Regions from separate parts of the Homo sapiens genome. Here region 2 is linked to region 1. Evidence: promoter capture Hi-C in human tissues and cell types (Jung and others, 2019). All regions are on one chromosome and are shown on one strand. The core of a region is centred on a gene start or on the middle of the fragment in contact, and the rest is flanking DNA. Distances in the headings are between cores, read along the strand shown. Region 1 holds the start of SLC16A11 (solute carrier family 16 member 11). Region 2 holds the start of PHF23 (PHD finger protein 23).

Region 1 (7,936 bases), core at 1-2,500:
GGCCCCCGCCTCGTTCGCTACCCCAGATCCCAACAAGCTCCTGTCACCTCCTTCACCCTGAATGACCCGGGCATCCCACTTCCCTCACCAGCGAGGAGGCCCAGGCCGAGGTAGAGATGCAGCAGATCGCTGGCGAAAGCCGAGAAGACGAAGCCCAGCGAGGCGAGGACGCCCCCAACCATCACCACGGGGCGGGCCCCCCAGCGCGTGCTCAGGGCGCTGCCCACGGGGCCTGAAAGGGGGCGGAGTCAACGGAAGACACGCCCCCGGGCCCCCAAACTCTCTCCAACACTTCTCATTGGCTGTTTGCCTCCCTCGAACTAATGGTTCTTCTCCTTGACCTCAAGATGCACTCTTTTCTAGAGCCGGTTGCCCTTTCTCAGGTTGTCGGGTAATCAGGTGGGTCTCCCATCCCTCCACTCACGGCTCCTCCTCCCCGTTCCTGTCTCCCGCCTCAGGGCCCCCCTCACTGGCTGCCTGCTGCACGGCCAGGGCCAGGGCGCTGATCCACGCAGTGTCCTGGGCGCTTCGGTCAAAGTGCTCGGCAAGGTCAGGGAAGGCAAGGCCCAGCGAGCGCAGCAGCCCGTAGGACAGCCCGTTTATCGCGAAGGCTGCGGCCGCCACCACCCAGCCCCAGCCCCCATCCGGGGGTCCGGCGGGCTGGGGGGTCATCGCCGTCTGCGGGGTGGGGAAACATCTGTGAGAGAAGCCTCCACGCCTGTGCTTCCGCTGGGGAGCTGGCATCCCTGAGATCCAGCCTCTGGCTGCTCGCCCGGGGTGGGCCCGTCACTCCGAGCGCGATGGCGCGGGGCGGAGGGAGCCGGAGCCTGGCCTAGGGCTGGAACTCCCGGGTCCGCGCGAGGTACGGGGACGGGGACAGCCAGATCCCCAGGCCCGAGGTTCCCCGTCCCACGCACACTCCTTCCCCCTTACCCGACCTCTCCGGGCGGTGCGGGGAGGGGAAGGGTGAGGAAGGGCTGGGCCCGGCTTTCTCTCTGCTTCCCAGGCGGGCGGGGGCCCCGAAGGGGAGCGAGGGCAGCGATGGAGCCCAACTTGGACGGGCTCTCTCGGTAAACAGAGATCACCACAGGGGCCTGAGCCACCTGGGACGCGGGGTGTACGGAGGGCGGGGGCGAGCTGAAACAGCCAATCCGGCAAGCCGCGCGTGAGGCCAGACGCCAGTCCCACGGGGATTGAATTATGTACACACACAACCCCCAGGCCCGGGGGAGGGGGGAGCGGCGAGAAATGAATGCAGAGGGGCCCTGCCCTACTCACACGCATGCACCTGCCGCCTGCTGCGCGCAGGGGAGACACGTGGATTGCAAACCCCAGCGAGCCCAGGGTCCACCGCCAACGCGTGGAAATAGGGATGGTCCCCAAAACCTGAGGGGATGAGTAGTTTTGTTCTCAGGAACGTTGCCGAGGACCAGGTAAATCTCGGATATCAATCAGATCACAGACCTCCACCAAGTGCCAGCTCTGTGCTTAGAATAACAGACCCCCAGGCCGGGCGCGGTGCAAGCCTGTAATCCCAGCACTTTGGGAGGCCGATGTGGGTGAATCACCTGACGTCAGGAGTTCGAGGCCAGCCTGACCAACATGGCGAAACACCATATCTACTAAAAATACAAAAAAAATTAGCCGGGTGTGGTGGCGGGCGCCTGTAGTCCCAGCTACTTGGGAGGCTGAGGCGGGGAATCGCTTGAACCCGGGAGGCAGAAGTTGCAGTGAGCCAAGATCATGCCACTGCACTCCAGCCTGGGTGACAGAGAAAGACTCTGTCTCAAAAATAAATAAATAAACAAAAATAAAATAAATAAAATAAAATAACAGGTCCTCAAGGACAGAGGGATGAAACACGACTCCCTCAATGTGAAGACCTGCAGTGTACCAGGCACCGTTTACACATGCTATCACTTCATCTTATGATAACCCTATGAAGAAGGTGTCGCTTTTCTTTTTTTTTTTTTTTAGATGGAGTTTCACTCTGTAGCCCAGGCTGGAGTACAGTGGCGAGATCTCGGCTCATTGCAACCTCTGCCTCCTAAGTTCAAGCCATTCTCCTGCCTCAGCCTCCTGAGTAGCTGGGATTACGGGCGCCTGCCACCACTCCCAGCTAATTTTTGTATTTTTTAGTAGAGATGGGGTTTCGCCATGTTGGCCAGGCTGGTCTGGAACTCCTGACCTCAGATGATCCGCCCACCTCGGCCTCCCAAAGTGCTGGGATTACAGGAGTGAGCCAACGCGCCTGGCCGATGTCGTGCCTCTTTTATAGATGCAGTAACTGAAGCTCTCAGGGAAAAAATGGTATGGATATTTGAATTTAGGTCTGTCCAACTGTGGACCTACAAGGAGAACAATCCCAGGACTGAAACAAAATCTGGCACAGTTAAGGGAAAGATCCTGGATACAGCTTGAAGCAAACTGCCCTGGAAAGGGTGGAACCATTGCAGGGACAGAAAACTTATGAGTCTAAAATAAGGGGTCACTGGGAATAGAAAGGATTCTTGAGATCAGAATCTCTAAACACTTAGGTTAGAATTTTATTTTTTATTATGTATGTATGTATGTATGTATGTATGTATGTATGTATGTATGTGTGTGTGTATTTATTTATAGAGACAGGGTCTTGTCCAGGCTGAAGTGTAGTACTGCCATTATGGCTCACTGCAGCCTCCACCTCCCAGGCTCAAGCAATACTCCACCTCAGCCTCCCGAGTAGCGAGGACTACAGGCTCCACACCACCATGCCTGGCTAAATTTGTTCATTTTTTTTGTAGAGAGGGGGTCACAGCATGTTGCACAGGCTGGTCTCAAGCTCCTGGACTTAAGCAATCCTTCCACCTCGGACTCCCAAAGTGCTGGGATTACAGTCTACCATGCCTGGCCAGGTTACAATTTTAAAAGCAAAGTAAAAAATCAGGTCATTGAAGCCAGGTATTGATTTTTTGAAAAACTTTATAGAAAATGTCCTTTTTTGATAGGTTGACATTCTTTACCTCAGCTCTTTGAATTCAGAGATGTGTTCTTTGGTTTAATTATTAAACAATATGATAGAACATTCAGCAACTTAAGTTTGGAGCATGCATCCATTGAGCCACATGATGGCAGTGTTTCCTAATTATTGGGAAAGAATCTGCACGTAAAGACAAGAAAAACAGCTTCTTAAGGAGCAAAACTGTAAACATAAAAGACACAGCATGACTATAGGCAATGGCTCTCCATTGCCTATAGACGGGAAAAATTACATTTCTCTATTTGTACAGGTCTTTTACAATAATCAAAGGTAGACCTAGGTTACCGTTCCAAACCATCTCCCCTCTCTCCCTTTTGCCAGCCTCCCATCAGCCACTGTCTTCTCTGCTCTGTGGACATGCCTAGCTTTTTCTCACTCCTTAATTTTTGCATATGTCATGCTCTCTGCTTGAAACGTCCTGTTGTTCATGAAGGTCCTGACAGACACACCTTAGGAAAGTGGCCCCACCGGTTTCCCCAGCCTGGAGTGCTGTTATGAAAGCCACCAGGGAGGCGGAGCCAGCAGGTCCTCAGCTACCGGGGAGGGCAGGGATCCCGCTTCCTGAGAAGGCTGCTGAAGACTCTGCTCCAAGCTAAACGAATCACTGTCTCCCCATGGTGACGCAGAAATGCAGGACAGTCAGAGCGAAGACCGGGCCCTCCGCATCTGGGAGTTGTGCTAAGTGATGCTGCGCACCTTCGCAGGATGCTTACGAAGCCAGAAGGGTATCCCAGAGCCTGGGACTAGGGCTGTGAAAGAGCACATTCCTCTTCTACCTCAGGCTCCCTATATTCTTAGCAAAACTTGTCATCTTTTGCTCACGGAGGTAAAATAGCACAGAGATTAGGAGAATGGACTCCCAAGCTAGATTTCTTGAGGTTGAATGCCAGCTCTACTGTAGGGTCTAGCCCTACGGGGCTTGGCGGGTGTTTTCCCCGTGTGCGGAGATGAGAGATTGTAACAAATAAAGACACAAGCCAAAGAGATAGAAGAAAAGACGCTGGGCCCTGGGAACCACTACCATCAAGACGCGGAGACCGGTAGTGGCCCCGAACGGCTGGTTGCGCTGATATTTATTGCATACAAGACAAGGGGGCAGGGTAAGGAGGGTGAATCTTCTAAGTGATTGACAAGGTGCAGCAAGTCACGTGATCACAGGACGGGAGGGCCCTTCCCTTTTAGGTAGCCGAAGTAGAGACAGAAGGCAGCATACGTCAGCGTTTTCTTCTATGCACTGATAAGAAAGATCAAAGACTTTAGACTTTCACTATTTCATCTACCGCTCTGTACTACGAACTTCAAAGAGGAACCAGGAGTACGGGAGGAACATGAAAGTGGACAAGGAGCGTGAGCATTGAAGCACAGCCCCACAGGGAGGGGTTTAGGCCTCCGGATGACTGCGGGGAGGCCTGGATAATATCCAGCCTTCCACAAGAAGCTGCTGGAGCAGAGTGTTCCCTGACTCCTCCAAGGAAAGGACACTCCTTTTCGCGATCTGCTAAGTGATGGGTGTCTTCCCAGGCACTAGCGTTACCGCTTGACCAAGGAGCCCTCAAGCGGCCCTTATGCGAGCGTGACAGAAGGTTCACCTCTTGCCTTCTAGGTCACTTCTCACAATGTCCCTTCATCACCTGACCCTATACCTGCCGGTTATTCGTAGGTTATATTAGTAATGCAACAAAAAGTAATATTAAAAGCTAATGATTAATAATGTCTATAATAATGATTGATAATTGTCCATGATCATCTCTATATCTCATTTGTATTATGACTATTTTTATTCTATTTTCTTTATTACACTGAAACAGTTTGTGCCTTCAGTCTCTTGCCTCGGCATCTACGTAATCTTTCGCCCACACTCTACCACTTAGTAACTATATGATTATGAGCAAGTGTGACTCAACCTCTCTGTGCCTCGGTTTCCTCATCTCTACAATGGGGGTAATAACAGTAGCTACCTGATGGGTTGTTATAAGAATTAAATGAGTCACTGTGAATACACATATAAGTAAGGAACTTAGAACAGTGCCAAAGTATACGTGTTAGAGCTCATTGCCGCTATTTTCTTTCTTTTTTTTTTTTTTTCTTTTTTTTTTGAGACAGAGTCTTGCTCTATTGCCCAGGCTGGAGTGCAGTGGTACAATCTAGGTTCACCACAACCTCTGCCTCCCAGGTTCAAGTGAATTCTCCAGCCTCAGCCTCCCAGGTAGCTGAGATTACAGGTGCCCGCCACCACACTCAGCTAATTTTTTTGTATTTTTATTAGAGACGGGGTTTCACCATATTTGCCAGGCTGGTTTTGATCTCCTGACCTTAAGTAATCCACCTACCTCAGCCTCCCTTAGTGCTGGGATTACAGGTGTGAGCCACCGCGCTCAGCCTCCATTGCCGCTATTGCTGTGAGTTGAGGAACCTGGCTGGACCTAACAGCACGGCAGCCCTTTCCCACCTGGCTACCTCTGCCCATGCCTCAAGGTCAAGGCACCACATTGCCCTGGTAAGTTCTCAGTAGAGCCACATGGGTTAGAAAATGTGAATGGCTATAAAGAGATTCAATGGAAATTTCTGCTTTTCTTCTTTCTTTTCCCTTAGCATTTTCCAAAGTTTGTGTGAAAATGCTGGTCTCCCTGCCTTAACTCTAAAAACAAAAGAGAAGGCCGGGCGCAGTGGCTCACACCTGTAATCCCAACACTTTGGGACGCCAAGGCAGGTGGATTACCTGAGGTCGGGAGTTCAAGACCAGCCTGACCAACATGAAGAAACCCCGTCTCTACTAAAAATCCAAAATTAGCCAGGCGTAGTGGCAGGCGCCTGTAATCCCAGCTACTCGGGAGGCTGAGGCAGGAGAATTGCTTGAACCTGGGAGGCAGAGGTTGCCGTGAGCCGAGATCGCGCCATTGCACTCCAGCCTGGGCAACAAGAGCAAAACTCCATCTCAAAAATAAAAATAAATAAAAAATAATAGAGAAGAAAAAAGTCAAAATAAGTTTTATTCATTCAGTCCTTCATACAAAATATTTATAGACAGCTACCGCGTGCCAGCTGCTATGCTTAGGGTTCGGGATACAAATGTGAATAAGATATAGTCTCTCCCCTCCCAGCCCCACAATCAAATCAGAGGATCATCACATAAAGAAAAGAATTCTCAGCACAAGGACGGGGACACATACACCGTAGAGTGGTGCATGGGAAGAACTGACTCATTCCTCTTAGGACTGCTGGGAGGCTTCACAGAAGAGGAGCCCCTTGGGCTGGGTCTTGAAGGATGAGTAGGAGTTTGCCAGATGGATCTGTGGGCAGGGGCGTTCCAGGCAAAGGAAGCAGCTTGTGGAAAATCACAAAGGCATGAACCAGCTTGGCACATTGTTTATTGTTTGGGGAGCTATAAATAGCCGCTGTGTGGAGAACCGAGCATGTGTAGGAGGATAATGTAGGATTAAGCTGCTGGGCAGAGGGTCCCGTCTGAAAGGCCTTGAAGGCCAGGCTAAGGATATTCCTCCAGAGGCTGATACTACTCCAAAATGTCCAATGAAGTAGCACTCACTAATACTCACTAATAATGGAAGCTGAATACAGAGGAGAGATGAGTCATGCCACAATCAGAGGCGCAAGGAGAGTTCGCCTTTTGCATGTGGGAAATTTCTTTGAAATATCTTGTTTTATGTTAAAAATTCATGCAGAATTTTTCATTCTACTTTTTTTGTTTGTTTGTTTGTTTTTGTTTTGTTTTGTTTTGTTTTTGAGACCGAGTCTCTCTCTGTTGCCCAGGCTGGAGTGCAGTGGCACAATCTCGGCTCACTGCAAGCTCGGCCTCCCGGGTTCAGGCCATTCTCCTGCCTCAGCCTCCCGAGTAGCTGGGACTACAGGCACCCACCACCACGCCCGGCTAATTTTTTGTATTTTTAGTAGAGACGGGGTTTCACTGTGTTAGCCAGGATGGTCTCGATCTCCTAACCTCGTGATCTGCCCGCCTCGGCCTCCCAAAGTGCTGGGATTACAGGCGTGAGCCACTGTGCCCAGCCCGATTTCTGGAATTCTCACACACAAAGATGCCAAAGGTGAGTGATGAATCACTGAATGAGAGAAACATTGAACAAAGGAGTCATTGAATGAGTGGACTCCGTGCCTGGTGCTCCACAGAATGCAGCAGTGGTACAGGAAAGAGTCGCAGATGGACCAAACCACGAAGGCCTGCCCATGTGGGGACAGCCCTCAAAGCAGATGCTGAGCTAGATGAAGTCTATAGGGAGATCGTAAAAGAGTGTCAAGCATGGCACATCATTTGCTTTGGGGACCACAGGATCTGGGAATGCGTCCATGTTTGCAAACTCTAAAACTGCTCTGGGGCTTTTTCATGGGAACTCCTGCCGGAGGTTCTCGGGGCCTCTGGAGTCTGCAGCCTCAGGGAAGCCCTGAACTAAGCCCCTCTATTTCCCAGCACCCCCACCAAGGGGCTCCCGCTGCAGAAGGTGGACAGGGAGGGAGGCGGGCAGGCAAGAGTGAGTGGCGTTACCCACAGGAAACATTCCTCTATTTGGGGTGCTCAGAAATATGAGGCTCTACACTGCTTGGCTCAGCTGATCTTGGGTTGTTTTTTGAGACTGATTTTCACTCTTGTTGCCCAGGCTGGAATGCAATGGCATGATCTCGGCTCACCACAATCTCAGCCTCCCGGGTTCAAGCGATTCTCCTGCCTCAGCCTCCCAAGTAGCTGGGATTACAGGCATGTGCCACCACGCCTGACTAATTTTGTATTTTTAGTAGAGATGGGGTTTCTCCATGTTGGTCAGGCTGGTCTCGAACTCCCAACCTCCAGTGATCCGCCTGCCTCAGCCTCCCAAATTGCTGGGATTACAGGCATGAGCCACTGCGCCTGGCCTGGGTTTCTAAGACCTAATAGAGCTGCCTCTCACCCCT
Region 2 (7,603 bases), core at 1,003-3,502, 200 kb after region 1:
CGGCCATCCACTCCCCGCATACCAGCTTTCCTACCACAGCCCTAAGAGTCTCCAACTTCCCTGGTCTTACATATAATTTCTAAGGGCCTCCTTCTATAAAGCAATACAGTTCTGTTTGAACAACAGTCACTCTATAGTCCCACCACACCAGCCTCAAGTCAGTAATTCTCTTGCCCCTACCTCTTTGCTAGGGGGAATGTAACCAGCATATGCCAAAACAAAACTGCAGAATTTGTTGAAATCCTCAATTGTTCTCCGCCGTTTCTCTGGTGGCTGAAAGGAAGGAGATATGGATCACATGCAAAGCCACACAGTTTAAGAATGGCATTCCCAGAAACACAGTCCCTAAGTGAGGTCTAGAAAAGGGGGGCGGGGGGCGTTGTCAGGCAGGGCTACTAGGCTGCAAAGGTAAGGCAAACCTCACCTGAGTCTCTGGCTTAAGGGTCGGAGGTGGATCTGGAAAAGCAATAAAAGCTGAGTCAAGACACTAGGAACAATCTGTGTAAAACTCCCCCTCTAAACCCCGTTGTTCCTAAGTGAACCCCCTGCTCTCCCAGGTCCCTCTGCCAGGCCAGCAGGCCCCCAGCTGTGTTGGATCCGCCCCGGCTCCCCCTTCCGCCCCGCGAGGGGCGGAGCCTGGGCGCGGCGCCCTCTGAGGCCTCGCTATAGCGCTCCCCTTCCCCCAACCGGAGGCCCGGCGCCCCGCCCCCCCAACTCACGGTCTCTCTCGACTCCAGTCTACTCGGATCCCTCAGCGCCCCACCCCACCGTACCGCTCCCGGGGCCGCGTCCGGGCCGCCGCCAGCCGCCCCCGTCCTTCACACGCGCCCGGAGCCCCGAGTTCCTACCCGGCCGCGCTCCACCGCCTCGGGCCCTCCGAGACCGCACACGCCGCCCGCCAGCCCCCAGGGTCCAGGATGACCACGCCGAACCGCTCCCCGCCCTCCGGCCCCTTCTACTCGAGCACGCGGCCCGGCGCGCCCCTCACCCCCACCCCAGACACACACAGGCACACGCATCCAACGCTACTTCACGGCCGGGACAGACCCGGGAGCTCTAACCCGGACGCGGCCCCCACCTGCCCCCCCCCCCCCGCCCATACCGCGCTCCCCACAATTTCGCCGTCCCTCCGCCCCCATCCGGGGCTTTGGCCCCTCCCCGTCTCCAGCTTTTCGGGCTCCCCACCGGGCCCCCCGGCCCTGTTCCTAGCCCTCTCCGGCCGCCGCCCCCCCCTCCGCCCCCGTACTCACCACCCAGTTACTAGGCTATGGACCCCTCAACTCTGGCCCCTTCCCCCCAACCAGCCACTCTCTCTCTCTCTCCACAGCAGCCACCGCTGCTGCCGCCGATGCCCCCCTCACCCTCAGCAACTCCCAGGCTCTTAACCCTCGCGGACCAACCCTACCCCCCCGCCCGACAAGTCGCCGGTCTTAACCCCCCCCACCCCGCCCCACCACCCCCTACAACTACCCAGCTCGCCTCGCTTCCTGGCTCGCTCTCTCCACAACTACCCCCCGGTACAGGTCCGTCTGCCGTAGACAATACCCAGACCCCCTCTTCTCCCCACAACTACCTGCCCACCTCTCCGACAATCACCGGGCATTCTCCGGCGGCAACTACTCGGAGCTCCGGTACCACCGCCACAAACTACCCCACCTCGGCGAACTACCGGGCCCCTCACTCAGCCTCTTCTACGTCCTCCCTCCTGAGCAACTCTCCGGCCACTGGATTCCCCTAACCTTCCAGTTCCAGGGCCCCAATCTGCCGGTGGCCCTTTCGGGCCCTAACCCCCGAGGCTCCGGGTTTCAAGCTCCTATCCCCCGCACCCCCACACCGTCTGATCTCCAACTACCCCAGCCCAGTTTCCCACTCCTCTTTCTCCAAGGTCTCTCAACTCGTCGCTCTCCCACCTCCAGGGCCAGCCTCCCGACCCCCTCCCCGAACTCCCCCGCTGGGCTCCGGGGCTCGACCTCCAAGTTTGCCAATTGATTCCTCGCCCGCCCCCCGCCGGCTCAGCGCTCTGCACCGGTCGAGAGCTCACCTTCGGGACTGGGCTCCGCCATGGCTTCCAGCATCGCCCCCTCCCCTCCTCCCGGTCCGGCGCCCCCCTCCCCGGAGCCGGGGATCCCGGTGCCGCCTCTAGTGCTCGATGCTCCCACTGCTTCGCTCCACAGAAGTGTCCGCCTCAGCCCGGTTGAGACTCGAGTCCGCTAGCCGCTGCCGCCACCTCCCTCTACCACTGCCTCCCGCACTCCCGGACCGGGCCCCCTCCCCCCGCGCCGCCGGCCGCCTGCTCCCTCCTCCTCCTCCTCCACCTCCTCTCTCCTCCCTCCCTCCTCTTCTCTCCCTCCTCCCCCCGCCGGCGCCGAGGCGCAGTGCACCAAGGGTTTTGTAGTCCGTCCGGGAACAGCGGAAAAGGGACCGCATGAACCTCCGGAACTTTGATTCCCAGAAAGCCACAGGCTGGCGCAGGCGCACCAAGCCGCTCCCCTCCCCCGGGGAGCGGCGGGGAGACCAGGAGCCGGAGGGGAGAGCGGAAGTGCGCGCGCAGGCCCCTGGGAGATGTAGGCTGGGCGGGACCAAGAAAGAAGAGGAAGAAGGGATTAGAACTCTCGGCCACCATACTGCCTCGTTCTGCAGCTTCTTTCTCCCCAGGAGGACCGCCCCACTTCCGGCCTGCCGGAGAAATGATTGCTGGGAGTTGAAGTATTCCTGGCGATAATGGCTCCCGCTCCCAGTCTTCTCCCTCCCTGATTCCACTCTGCCGGATCCCACACACCGGCAAAAGTCTAGCCAAGTGACATGCAACTGAGAACAGCCGTTTTACTAGCTTGCACACATGAAAATATCTTAGTTAGAATGTTCTAGCAAATGTGGATGTTCACCTAAAGCAGGTACTTCGGAACTTTCTCCACAGGAACCCACAGTAAAAAAAAATTTTTTTTTACATGAGCATTTTTAACATTTAGTTTCACATGCGTGTTATAAAACTAAAGTTTCAAGAAATAATCCTCAGTATTCCATTCCATCACAACAAAAGCACCCTCTTTTTGCAGACAGGGAAAAGCCCAACATGAACAGAATAAACCAAAATATACTTCTATCCCTCCAGCTTGTACCCAGTACTCTTCTTTCCCCACCACTGAAACCCACTGACACCTTGGAAAGACTTAAAATCAGCGGGACGAGGGGAGCAACACAAGGCAAAATTCAGTTCAGCTTGGTGGTTTCCTCTTTATTGATGTGCCTCCTACCTTCCCCCCACAATTTCAGTCCCTTCCAACTACCCCCAAAAAAGAAGGTAGTGAAAGGAAGGGATTGCTGGGGTTCTGAGCCCCTTGGGCAGTCAGAAAGGGAACAGAAACCAAAACAATCACTGGATGTGACACAGACTGACAATCAAGAAGTCTACAGCAGGATGGGAAAGGCGGGCAGAGAAAGGGGAAGAAAGGAGAAAGGAGAGTTACAAGATGCCAACTCCACCATTACCCCTCCTAAGAGAGGCTGGAGAGAAAGCCACAAACATTAAGAAGTGCCGGTCCTGAATAAGGGAGGTGGTGTTTGAGCTTGAAGGAGGAGGAGGTCAAGAAAGGGGGGCCACCTCTCTCTTTGTAGAATGAGACCCCCCTCCAGCTCAGGGGCAGCAGCTTCACAGACCGTAGACACTTTCGTCACTGTAGGCAATGTAGAGAAAGAAGTCTTCTTCATGGTGTTCCTGGGATGAAAGCAGAAAACTGTTCAGCAACTGGGCTCCAGTAACTTAAACCAACCACGACCCAGACACGTTCTTCTAGAACCACAAACCATTGCCTGACTCCTTCACTGACTCCAAGGCCTACCACACGAGCAGTATAATCTCTGCAGTCCTGGGCAAAAAGGCCTCAAACTGTTTTCTGCTGCTTTGGAATGGGGAGGGGGACTGGGAAGAGTCCCGAACAGATAGTTTCTCTAGCTCACTGTTCTCTTTCCTTCTCTCTACTCCTACTGTTCTGTCCAAACCCCCAACCCACGGCTATTATGAAACTTTAAGGCAAGCCAGGAAGCTAGTCCAAAACTACTGATGTAACAACACTTTCTTCCCCTCACGCTCTTCCAAGATTCCTCTCCAAAGCCTCCACCACTTCCCAGTCACCATACCTGGTACAGCTGACCCATTGTGGCACTGGTGGGTGGAATGACATTGTTGACAAAGAAAAACAAGGCATCCTCAGCTCGGAGATGAATTCGCTTCCGGATCAAGAAGTAGAACTGACCAACTGCAAAAGATACAAGATGCAAGAAAGTCACAGAGGTCAAAAATGCCCTCAAAAGAACAGCTGCTAGGTGGAGCCTCCTCCCGCAGAGACTGCACTCCCACCCACAGGAAGCAAGCCTGAGTCTTGGATCAGGTTCCCACCTGTGAGATCAGAAGGCACCAGGTATTTCTTTTTGTCCAGGTCTCCTATCCGAGCTTTGGGAGCCTTTTCTACTATCACCTGATAAAGAGATGAAAATTAGGAGACAGAAGGAATGCAGCCCCGAAGCTGCACCTGTCAAGAACTCAAGAAACAATATTCCTAGCACCTAAATCTACCCCAGATTCATCTCTTTGTCTTTGTACACGCGGTGCAGCACTGAGTCCCAGAGATCCTGACCTCACTGACTGGAGCTCATTTAAATATCCAGGATCCATCCCCCAATAGGGCGTCACCATAAACAACTATCTTAATCAGACGGAGGTGACTTGTTTGGGTCGACTAGTGATTCAATCTCGCAACCTTAGCTAGCTGGGGGGATGACCATTTGAAGCTCAGGCTGTCAAACTCTCTAAGGCCTCAAATGCTAAGGTTTCTCTCTCCTGTCCACATCCCTCTCAACCCCACATCCACCACTACCCCACTCCTTTCATCCTGGGTCCCAAGGACAGCAGTTTCAGGCTCGCTGCCAACCCCACCACAGCCAGCAGCCTGATCCCTGCGCTGCCTGTCCCGATCCAAGGCCAGGCTGTGGCGTCAGCGTAAGCGTCCCGCGCCCTCGGCCCTGGCTACTGTCCTCACCGGCACCCGGTCCGGGTATTTCTTTCGGATCTTCTCGCCCTCAGAGCGGCGCTTCTCGAACGGATGCTCTTCTTTGTACACGAACTTCATCCTCCCGGGAACCGGGCTGGACAGGGCTGGGCTGAGGGAACCCAGGGGGGCCGGGACGGGGGGCGGCGACGACGGCGGCGACGCGCGGGCGGATTCAGCGGAGCGATCCACGAATTTGCGCCACTTCCCTATTCACCAACCCCGCCCCCGACTATCGGGGACTGCCCCCCCCGCTAAGATACGCCACTACCTCAGCGGCGCTAACGCTGCTAGCGTAGCACCACCAACTGACCGGCCCCCTCACGCCATTAGCGTAATCGCTTTGGAATCAATTTGTGGGCTACGCAGGCGACGTAGCAAAGACGGTTGGCTTTTGCTCATCGAAAATTACTCTAAACCTATTCCCCAACCGTCCCCTCAAGGAAGCTGGGGCTGAAGAGGAGTAAAAGATGGTAATCATCATACGAGACTTGGTTCTCCAAGTTCCTTTCGTTAACAACGTAGAGGAACAGCAGGGACAATTACAAGGTTAGCTATTCACGAACCGTGTTGCTACGCTGAAGGCGGCCGTTGACACCAAAACAAAGTAGTACCCAAGTGGCGGAGATGATCTCCAGAAATAAGAAGTCAAAAAGAAAACAGATGTTTGGAGAGATCTACAGAACGCTTAAGTGCCAAAATGAGTAGACCAATAGGGACTGGAGAGGAGGTTGGAAAGGTAGGGACTACGCCAGCGCGGAGGAACACTGCGGGACTTGAGTTAAATCATGTGATCTCAAAGAGGGCGGAGCGTCACGTGGCGGGTGCGCGAAGTAGGGCCGGCTTGGGAGGGCGCCGGGGAGGCGGGGCCGGCTGGGCGACAGCTGGGAGGGGGACCGACGCCTTCCCGGACAGCGGAGGTCGGGGCGCCAGCCACCTGGGGGCAGCGCCCGCTTAACCTGTCCACGTCAGTGCCCCGGACGAAGCCCGGTTTCTCCAGCTCTACGCCCTTTGGCCGTCCAGGTTTCTCCTTTCGTGCTTCCATAGCCGGTTTCTCCTTTCGTGCTTCCATAGCCTGCTTCTCCGAAGGTGTCCTTCCACTCCCCACCAGCGCGCCCATCCTGTCACTCGGCCCTTCCCGCCAAAGCATCTGGTGTCAGCATTATTGTATCCCAGGCATCTGGTGTCCGCATTATTCTATCCCTATACTCAACGCCACCTTTCCCCCTGCCCCTTGAGTCCAACAGCAGTCTCTTCCCCCTCTGCCTGTGGGACAGGGTGCATGTGAACAAAGTCCCCTCTCTTCACTTCCCAAAACCCCAGAGAAGGACCTAAGGCCGCTTTGGTTTCAAAGTTATAATGCATGGTTTAAAAGAGAGAAAAGGAAAAAAGACACAAAGCTGGTTACAGGTCTGAGGGAGTCTAAGGAGAGAAAAATAGAGGGAGAGTAAAGGGGGGACAAATTTAGGGAAAATCCAGTGGCCCAAAATCCCAGTATCCCACCCACAGCCCAGCCCTTGGAGCAGGAGTGAAGAATTAGATCAGTTTTGTACAAGAGTTTTTTAAAAAAAATCAAATCACAACAAAGCTGACTTGGCTTCTCTTTGAGCCTCCTGGATCACCGTATGTCTGTCACTCTGGCCAGTCCTGCCTCTTCACAAACACTGATTCGGCTCTCCTAGGCTTCCGCCTGTGTCCCAGTCTGGGGTTTCCATGGAGTGTGAACACGAAGTTAAGAGTGAGGCTGCTTCAGAGCCCCTGGCCCATGTGTCCATCCAGACTCCAAGTGGAGTGTAGGGCTCCCAGGGCAGAGAGGGGTGGGAGGGGCAGACCCTGCCCAGGCAGTCCTCACATTGGACAGGGCATCAGACGGCATCCCAAGGGCTCGCCCTCCCTTTCCCCCCCACCCCAACTCAGGTGGAGGGGGAGCAGCTGTCACCAGAGCCGATGTTGGTGAAGGTTTCGGCTCAGCACGGAACGAACATCAGCGGTGAACCTGGGGTGACAATAACTTGCATTGGTAGAGTACCTTATAGTTCATACCCTCACAACACTCTTGTAAGGCAGCATCACTGGAGATGTGGGACCTAAATTATCACCATATTCATGATTAGATAGGTTCAATTTGCCCACAGCCTACTAGCTAAAGTGATGAGCTTTGAAGTAAGACGACCTGGGTCCAAATGTTAAATTCTTAAGGGAACAGAGTTAAAACAGGACAAACCTTTTTTATTCCCTCTGAGGATCCCCCACCTCCTCCTTTCTTGAGATATCCAAGTGTCCAGAGCCCACTTCCCTTACCTGAGGGCATCCAGCATTGGGAGCAGGTTGAGAAGGGCTGTGTCGCTGGGGTCACTGAACCAGGATTTGATGGGGATGGCATTGTCTAGGGTGGGTGAAAATGCAGATGAGAAGAAACAGAATTCAAGAGAGACGGTGTTTTTCTCTTCTTGGAGGGAAGGAGGAATTATTGTTAAAAATATATGCCTCCCACTACCGGAAGTCAACAACCTAAGTAAAACTTTCCTGGTTTATGCTCCGAAACTAAGTTTTAATCA

What was found. Contacts are between HindIII fragments. The study calls those that stand out against the background at their distance.
Region 2: a contact is called between the fragment with the promoter of PHF23 here and the fragment with the promoter of SLC16A11 in region 1, in 1 of the 25 tissues and cell types used here (adrenal gland).

What each region holds. Positions count from the first base shown.
Region 1 is chr17:7,042,842-7,050,777 of GRCh38, forward strand. It overlaps SLC16A11 (solute carrier family 16 member 11), which reads right to left and starts at 1,251. Exons shown (of 5, transcript NM_001370549.1): 1 at 934-1,251; 2 at 471-678; 3 at 89-232. The coding sequence starts at 672. It overlaps LOC124903909 (a long non-coding RNA gene), which reads left to right and starts at 226. Exons shown (of 2, transcript XR_007065598.1): 1 at 226-399; 2 at 3,341-4,739. RefSeq lists silencers at 598-657, 728-857 and enhancers at 3,940-4,009, 4,070-4,139, 4,210-4,259. The HindIII fragment of the contact is 14,065 bases long and covers 1-7,936 here.
Region 2 is chr17:7,237,205-7,244,807 of GRCh38, forward strand. It overlaps PHF23 (PHD finger protein 23), which reads right to left and starts at 2,253. Exons shown (of 5, transcript NM_024297.3): 1 at 2,042-2,253; 2 at 425-456; 3 at 181-273. The coding sequence starts at 2,075. It overlaps GABARAP (GABA type A receptor-associated protein), which reads right to left and starts at 5,245. Exons shown (of 4, transcript NM_007278.2): 1 at 5,037-5,245; 2 at 4,397-4,475; 3 at 4,138-4,256; 4 at 2,804-3,715. The coding sequence starts at 5,126. The coding sequence ends at 3,650. CTDNEP1 (CTD nuclear envelope phosphatase 1) reads right to left here. Exons shown (of 8, transcript NM_001143775.2): 7 at 7,347-7,431; 8 at 6,387-7,041. The coding sequence ends at 6,981. RefSeq lists silencers at 521-1,000, 2,151-2,330, 2,381-2,520, 5,118-5,307, 5,898-6,007 and enhancers at 1,854-2,503, 2,631-2,720, 4,402-4,953, 4,954-5,505. The HindIII fragment of the contact is 12,207 bases long and covers 204-7,603 here.